Regions from separate parts of the Homo sapiens genome. Here region 1 is linked to region 2. Evidence: promoter capture Hi-C in 16 types of primary human blood cells and fetal thymus (Javierre and others, 2016). All regions are on one chromosome and are shown on one strand. The core of a region is centred on a gene start or on the middle of the fragment in contact, and the rest is flanking DNA. Distances in the headings are between cores, read along the strand shown. Region 1 overlaps LOC124901446. Region 2 holds the start of SNX9-AS1 (SNX9 antisense RNA 1).

Region 1 (4,123 bases), core at 601-3,100, 510 kb after region 2:
TTGGGTTGCTGCCGCCCAGCTCTTTCGGTCTCCACTTCTCCCCACGGACGTTTACAGCTGCTCGCTTTATTTCTCCCTCCATTCCCCCGTGGAGCCCCCTCGGCAGCGGAGGGGTCGCGTGCTTCTCCTCTCCCGCCTGCGCCTCCCCCCTTCCCACCCGACAGCCCAGGAGGAGCTGCGGGCGCGGCCCTGGGACGGCCGGAGCCTGGGGCTTCTGCTCGCTCGCGCCCTCCCAGGCGTTGCCGCGGGTCCGAGCCCCCGCAGAGGTGGGCATAGCCCCGGGGCCGCAGAAAACGAAGGCAGCTGGGCAGGGATGCTCAATTTCCCGAGCCCCACTTTCCTTTCACAGCCCACTGGGATGTGTAGTTCTTCCGCCCGCAGGCCTGCGCCGAGGAGAAGCACGACTCGGGGCCTTAGAAACTACAAGTCCCTGCATCCCCCGCGACAAGGGCAGGAGAGGCGTGGTGCTGGGCGTTCTGGGGCTAGGTGGTGGGAGATGGGAACCAACAAAGGGGGTTGTGGGGAACGGTGCCTTCTCTGTACTGGGCAGTTTGCACGTTACACATGTTCTTTGTCTAATCTTCGCCGGAACCCGGTGAGGCATTATTGTATCCAGCTTAGAGAAAGCTTAACTACTGGCCAAACATCACAAAGCTCCCAAGTAGTAGAGATGGCATCGAACCCAGAGCCCTAAGTATGTCCCTTACAAAGCGTGCCTCAGTGAGGAGTGTCGAAGGGGGATGAGATTGGCTTATCCAAGAGGGCCAGTTGGGAGGAGCTGTGGTAAGGAAAAAGTGATGGGAATAGCAATTAGAGTATGACATGCAATTACAAGGAGTTTTGAATACAAGTGAAATTTACAGGGGTCCATTCCAAAGCCGGTTAGAGTCTAGGGAGAATGGATCTTAAGCACACGATAATAATTGGGTTTTAATTATTTTAGATATTGTATGAGAGACAAGCATATTACAGGGACAATTAAGTATTTGTGGCTGGACTAGTTTTAAAAAACCAACTGGAAAGCTTCATACATTTCAAGTGAAAGCTCTCATATGCTTTCCTGTCCTTTAGCTAATGAGATCAACGGGGTATTATTCTTATTCTGTTTATTGCAAGCACCTTTTCTGTGGGTGTCCAATTAATATAATAGATCCATTGATTTGATGGCATTAAAAAAGACTCCCACTCTTATTCTCAATGAAACCGAATTTTTCTGGCATTATGGTTATGCTTTTAAAAAGTCCTTCCTTGTCTGTTAGAGATATGTACTAAAGTATCTGCCAGCGAAATAATATAAAGTCTGAAATGTGCTTTAAAACACACCAGCCCATCCACTCCCCTCCTCCCACCCACCCAGCTCCAGACATGGAGGTATAAATGAAACAATTGGAAACTGTTGAAAATAGTTGACCTTGGGTGACATGTACTTGTACTTAATTATTTATTGCTGCAAATTGCCACAAACGTAGTGGCCTTAAAACAAGACAGATTTTTCTCACAGTTTTTATGGATCAGGTGTCCAGGTACACTCAGTCCCCCACTTAGGGTCTCACGCCTGCCATCAAGGGGCTGGCCAGGCTGCGTTCACATTCACTGGAGAAGAACTGGCTTCCACTCTGACTCCGGGCACAGGCAAAATTCCTTTCCTTGCAGCAGTAGGACCGAGGGCCCTGGCTTCTTGCTGGCTGGAGACTGGAGACTGTCCTCAGCTCCAAGAGGGAACCTGCAATTCCTAGAGGTTACCTGGACTTCATTGTCACTTGGGCTTTCCGAGCACAGCCACTTATTTTGTCAGGCCTGCAAGGAGAGTCCCCAGAGTGAGTCTCCAGCAAGACAGAATTTTATATAACATAAAGCAATCCCACGGGGGCAACTTCAAATGTGAACATTCTGTTGGCCAGAAAGCATGTTTTGCACACACTCAAAGGGAGAGGAGTACACAGGGCATGAACCCTAGGGTGAGGGACACCCCGGAGTGCATCCACCACAGTGTACATGAGAGTCCATTATGCTTTTCTTACCTACCACATCTACTCATGTTTATGTTTGACATTTTCCATAATAAAAAGAAATGAATTCGTTTTAAAATGTTACCTAAAGTTTCCACAGCAAATAAGATATGCTGATATGATTTCTAAATAGCTGATACAATTGTCTGTAGTTGTCTTCCAGGGGATAACTTTTTTCTTCCCACTCCATGTGTACTAAGACCTCTGCGGTTAATTCACTTGTATGGGTTACCCTCCCCTAAGAGCGTTCACTAGAACCTGGTGTGTGATAGCTGCAGAGTTCACCTCACCAGCTACAGTTGATCTTGAACAATATGGGTTTGAACAGCGTGGATGCCCTTAGACACGGATTTTTTTCAACCAAATGCAGATGGAAAATACAGCATCCGTGGGATGGGAAATGCGAGTATTCAGAGGGCAAAGGCCCACTCTTCCTATATGCAGGTTCTGTGGAGCCTGTTTAAGGACCTGAATATGTGCAGATTCAGGTATACGCAGGTGATCCTGGAACCAATCTCCTGAGGATACTGAGGGATGACTGTAAAACCTACTGTATAAGGGATGGTAGAGTTTATTCATTTATTTTACAGTTATCTATTTCAGGGCCTAGATTGTGCTAAGTACTGTTTTAGCAGCAGTGATACAAAAAGATCCAAGATAGAAGCTTATATTTGGGGACTGGGGGAGAGGTGGAGAGAATAAACAAATAAATAAATGACTAGTAAGACAATTTCAGAGAGTAATTACAAGAACGAAAAAACAAAGCAGGGTTATGGGATGGAGAGACTGGGGTCGGGCAGAGAATCGAATGATGGGAAGGGGCAAGTACCAAGTCCTCAAGGCAGAACAACCTGGAAAATTCTAGGGGTACAAAGAAAAACCAGTCTGGCTGGAGTGGAGCGAGGGCCAGGGAGAGAGGGAAAAAGGAACAGGAATTCATTCTGTGTGCACCAGCATCAATTCTGTATGCCACACTCTGTACCCACCATCGGTGTAAGTGTTGAGGGGTCTGAAAGAAAAATCACCGTCCTTGCCCTCCAGGAATGTATAGATTCCAAACTTTAATGCTAGAGGGACGTCAGCGTATCTAGAATTAGAGACCAAAACTTGTATTTCTCAAACAAGGACACTGAAAAGTCAAAAGACCTGCTAAAAATTCCTTGAGAATGCCTCGCCAATAACAAATAATCCAAAAATGAGTCTTGAATTGAATTGAAAGAGTGCATGATCTACTTTTGCTAAATGGGGTTTAGCCTAATACTGCCTCTTTACATATTTTAAGTTTGGCCTAAAGGTTTCTCTGTACACTGAACTGTAGCCTAAATGGAAGTGTAAACAGAGTGTGATCTACTCGGGTGTCAATTACTGAGTTTTGGCCACTCAATTGTGGCCAGCTGTTCAAACCATGTTCAAATAAGACAAATGCTGAGCTGTAACCATCTGGCTGTTTCCGTACCTCATTTCCGCTTTCTGTACGTCACTTTCTTTTTTCTGTCCATAAATTCTCTTCCACCACGCGACTGCACTGCAGTCTTTGAGGCTACCCTGGCTCAGGAGGCTGCCCAATTCATGAATCATTCTTTGCTCAGTTAAACTATTTTAAATTGAATTCAGCTGAAGTTTTTCTTTTAGCACTTTAAAGCTTTAGAAAATTGATAATGTTTAGTGCTTGTCACGTGCAGGTCAGTATGATGAAGGTAAATGCGGCAGAGAAACTACAGTTAAGGTTGGGAAACAAGATGGAGGCACATGAGAAATTCAATAATACAAGAGAACGATATTATAAAAATAATGATCTTTTCTCCAGAGTATTTTTGTATTAGTCAATCTCCTGGTTCTTTATACATTTAGATCATTAAATCCGGAGGACAACCTGATGAGGCAGGGATTATTATCTTTATTTCACAGAGGAGGAAACTGAAGATCAGAGAAGTTAGGTGATTTGCCCAGGGTTTTGCAGTAAGTAAGTAATAGAGTCAAGATTCTAGGCCAGGTATGAATGTCTGACTCAAGCTTTCCTATATCCCCCACACAATGGAAAGAGCACGCGGTCTGATGAACCAACAACTGAGTGGAATAGAGAAATCATCTTGATTTCAGAGTGAAGAGAAATC
Region 2 (4,139 bases), core at 742-3,241:
ATGAAAACTGCAATCCAAAAGGTCTCTGAAATTTCCAGAAGAAAAAATGCTAGGCTTAAGGAGACTGTGTATTTAGAACCGATGGATTTTGTCAAATTGCTTTTGAAAGAGAATGCAATAACATTCCCACATTCTGACAACTGTCACGCTGAGGGGTTTTGTCTTACATAGAAAGGGACTTTCATACTTCTTTTTAAAAAGTATTTCTCTCCCATAATTCCTTTGAGTAATTTAATAGTTTAATTATTAATCTTACAAATAAACTTTTGGAATGGGAAATAGATGGCACCCAATCTCAAAGAATATTCCAGTAGAGAGTACACTTAGCACCTATTAGCCCTGCCCCCACCATCCCACCCTTGAGGCAAATACAGTTTTTTGTTAGCTTTTTTTTTTTTTTTTTTTTTAACATTTAAATCTTGTATCTGTCTGGAACTGAGTTAAGTAAAACAAATAATATAGGGGCCGGGCACAGTGGCTCATGCCTATAATCCTACCACTTTCGGAGGCCGAGGCGGGAGGATCACCTGAGGTCAGGAGTTTGAGATCAGCCTGGCCAACACGGTGAAACCCCATCTCTACTAAAAATACAAAAATTAGTCAGGTGTAGTGGTGGGCGCCTGTAATCCCAGCTACTTGGGAGGCTGAGGCAGGAGAATTGCTTGAATCCAGGAGGCGGAGATTGCAATGAGCTGAGATCACGCCACTGCACTCCAGACTGGGCGACACAGAGAGACTCTGTCTCAAAAAAAAAAAAAAAAAAAAAGAAAAGAAAAGCGAAAAGAAAAAGAAATGATACAGGGATCCAGCTGAACATCTTGTCCTCAGTCGGTCACCCTAATACCATTTCATGAACAATCCATCTTTCCCCCATGATTTGAAATGCCGCCTTCATCACATATCAGATTTGGGTCTATAGCTGGACTCTCTTGTTTCTTAGTGATCTATTTGTACTAGTACCACACTTTCATAGAAAAACCATCAATACTTTAGCATAACATCTCTTAGCTGTTTATTTTTATGTATAAACTTTAGCATCAGCTTAATATTTAAACTAAAACAATCTGAACTTTCACATTAGAATGTTGAGTTAAAATACTGATTTTCATTTGAATCACTGTTTACTGAATTCATAGAAAATTGATTAAAATTATTCATGCCTTTCACTCCACAATATTTCAGTACTGAATCTATTTCATAACATGAAATAGCAAGTCTTCCCCTTTATTTGAGTCTTATACACACACACACACACACACACACAAATGGTGCTAGTTAAAAAAAGAAAAAAATATAATTGCAAGAAAATTACCCACCCTGTCTAATATAGCCCCTAATGTTGTAGGACAGACACCCTAGTGGCTGGTCTGTTTTGACTCTTCACCAACCGACACATGGGGCAGACAGCTGGCTGTCACGTGCCAGGTGCATCAAAAACAGACTACATGCTTTTGATGTGCAAGTATGATGTCATTCTACTGCCCTATATACCTCTAAGGAAAAAACTGAAGTTACTTGTTATTTTACTCTATGTCAAATACTAACAGGAGAAAGATGTTTCATCCACAAGACTGTGACTTCTCAAACACACAGCTTTACAAGGTGACATTCGGCTTCGGGATGGACTCTCAGATGACCCCAGTGGACGCTGGAAATGAAGGCAATCATGCTGAGGGCCTGGCAGTCACACTTCAGCTAAGAGAAACCCTTCCTTCTACAGTTTTCTTTAAGGAAATGTAGTTTTATTCTCCTATTTAGCAATATATTCCGTGTCCTCCAAACTCTAAGTTACAAGTTTTTTCAAATAAGAACTTGAAAAAGTACCAAAGTTTGGGACACTAGGGACAGACTATCATTGGTACAGCAGCCTCAGCCTGGTTTCCATCAAGGACCGGCTGTGAAATGGAGGGGCTCGGAGGGCCACAGTCAAGAGCCTAGTGAGTTGGAATTCCGTTAACAGCTCTACCTCTCTTCCGCTGTGTAACCTCGGGCTAGAGTTCAGAAGTGAGTGGTCTGGATTCAGAAGACTGCCAGAAGCTAAGTGAGGTACATCACAAAGGAACACAGGACTGTGAGCTAGAACAGGAGAGTGAATGTTCGCTGGGGCCTTCCAGAAGACAGTTCAGTCTTAGCAAACTGGCCAGGAAGGATTTTCATCAAGATGGAGGAAAAACCTGGAGGTGAACTATTCATAGCAAGTGTCCTCAAAAAATTAAAATCCATTTAATTAGGGCAAAAACAAATAATTGTTCTTTGAAAATCACTTGGTCAATAATTTGTAGGTGTGTAGTAACTGTCATACTAGTTGGTTATGTATGTGATCTTAGCTCTCCACCTAAGTTATGAAATCTTTGTGGTTATGTTTGTTTCTATCTCTTTGGTTTTGTTTTTTTTTTTCCTGGAACGCTCTCTTTATCTTGTTTCAACCCAACTCCTGCTGATAACACATTTCTCAAAACCCTACCAACTGGAGATCTTTCCTGCAGCTTCCGTCACGGCCCTCGGACTCAGTCCCTCAGCAGATGGCCTTTTACTGCCCTGGCAGGTCCCTTCCCCTCTTAACTGTAACCAATCACTGGCTTTCTCTCTGAACCCATCCTTCCCATACGTCGATCTCTGCCTTCTTCACTCTCAACTCCCAAATCCCCTTGGTAGTTCCCTAACTACAGACACCTCGTCACGGTAAAACCTATTCAGCTCCTGGGCTGAGGTTTCCATCCTGTGGCGCCTCTCTGTCCTTTCCTTCCACCTTTCCCTCCTCTTCCTTTCTACTGAGCAGCATCTTCATCCTCTTTCTCTTCCCACTCCTTATTTTGCAAAGCTCTTAACTGTCCATCATGGGTAATTAAAATCCCTTCATTAGCACTCACTGCCCCTAGAGTCACCTCCAAGCTTCCTGTGGCTCAATCAGGAGTTTCTTCAGCACAGGTCTCAACTTTGCCTCGTGCTGCATTCCCCATTCTCCCTACCTGCCACTAACCTTCACTCTGAAGCTTCAAACTTCACACATTTCCCCAAACTTTTCTACATCTCTGCTGTTCCTCACACTATACTGTACTCTTATCTGCACACCTCATCTTCCTCAATTTAGCAAAGCCCTACCCCATCAGAAGGGCTCTGGCCTTCCCACAGCCTGCTGGCTGACATCCAGCCGCCTCCTTTCACTTTCTTCATTATTTGCAAATCAGATGGTCAGTCCCACCAGTGAATCACGGGGACAGCTCTGTCTTACCCGGAGAATGTTTCCCCCAAAAGATTCTCCAAATGCCTTGCATAAAGTGGCAAGGACTCAAATATTTTAAATGTGATGTTCTTGATCATTTGTATGAAATATATCTTACTCTTTGTCAGACCTCTAACCTTCATGACATGATCACCAAAAGGAGGAAATCAGATTTGCCTTATGTATACTAAGACTATGTATACTAAGACTTTGCCTTATGTATAAAAAGACTAAATTGAGTCTTTTTGAAAAAATTAACTTGTTGTGGTCGATCACAGAATAAGTGATTTTCAGCATGTGACTACAGAAAAAATGATTTTTGGCCAGGCGCAGCGGTTCACACTTGTAATCCCAACATTTTGGGAGGCTGAGGCAGGAGGATCACTTGAGGTCAGGAGTTTGAGACCAGCCTAGCCAACATGGTGAAACCCCATCTCTATTAAAAATACAAAAAGCCGGGTGTGGTGGCAGGAGCCTATAATCCCAGCTACTTGGGAGGCTGAAGCAGGAGAATCGCTTGAACCTGGAAGGCGGAGGTTGCAGTGAGCCGAGTTCACACCACTACACTCCAGCCTGGGTGACAGAGTGAGACTCTGTCTCAAAAAAAAAAAAAAAAAAAAAAGAGAAAGAAAAAAGAATTTTTAGCATGTGACACTATGAGTACCCTTAAAATAACAGTGTCTGAGTTCTGAAAGTGGATGATACAGACAGGCACAGGAGATGGAGGAATGGGCAAATATGAGAGAAAGCAAGAGCAGTAAAATGGGAATGGTAAAATCTAGAAGGTGGGTATATGATTATTCACTATGAAATTCGTTTAACTCTTCTATGCTTGAAATTTTAACAAACATTGGAAAATGCAACAAACAAAATCGACATATACAATCACTCTCGTCTGAGCTCCATTAGAAGGACA

What was found. The method cuts DNA at HindIII sites, captures the fragments that hold promoters and counts their contacts. A CHiCAGO score of 5 or more calls a contact.
Region 1: a fragment that was not itself captured here is called in contact with the fragment with the promoter of SNX9-AS1 in region 2 in 1 of 17 cell types (naive CD4 T cells); the score reaches 6.7 in naive CD4 T cells.

The regions. Positions count from the first base shown.
Region 1 is chr6:157,376,382-157,380,504 of GRCh38, reverse strand. LOC124901446 reads left to right here. Exons shown (of 1, transcript XM_047419644.1): 1 at 1-1,191. The coding sequence ends at 694. Among named protein-coding and RNA genes, the nearest start is that of ZDHHC14, 2.7 kb to the left of the region's middle. RefSeq lists a silencer at 98-177 and an enhancer at 379-991. The HindIII fragment of the contact is 1,650 bases long and covers 1,026-2,675 here.
Region 2 is chr6:157,890,734-157,894,872 of GRCh38, reverse strand. SNX9-AS1 (SNX9 antisense RNA 1) reads left to right here and starts at 1,991. Exons shown (of 2, transcript NR_183542.1): 1 at 1,991-2,180. All of the region lies in intron 4 of SNX9 (sorting nexin 9), which reads right to left. The HindIII fragment of the contact is 5,913 bases long and covers 1-2,894 here.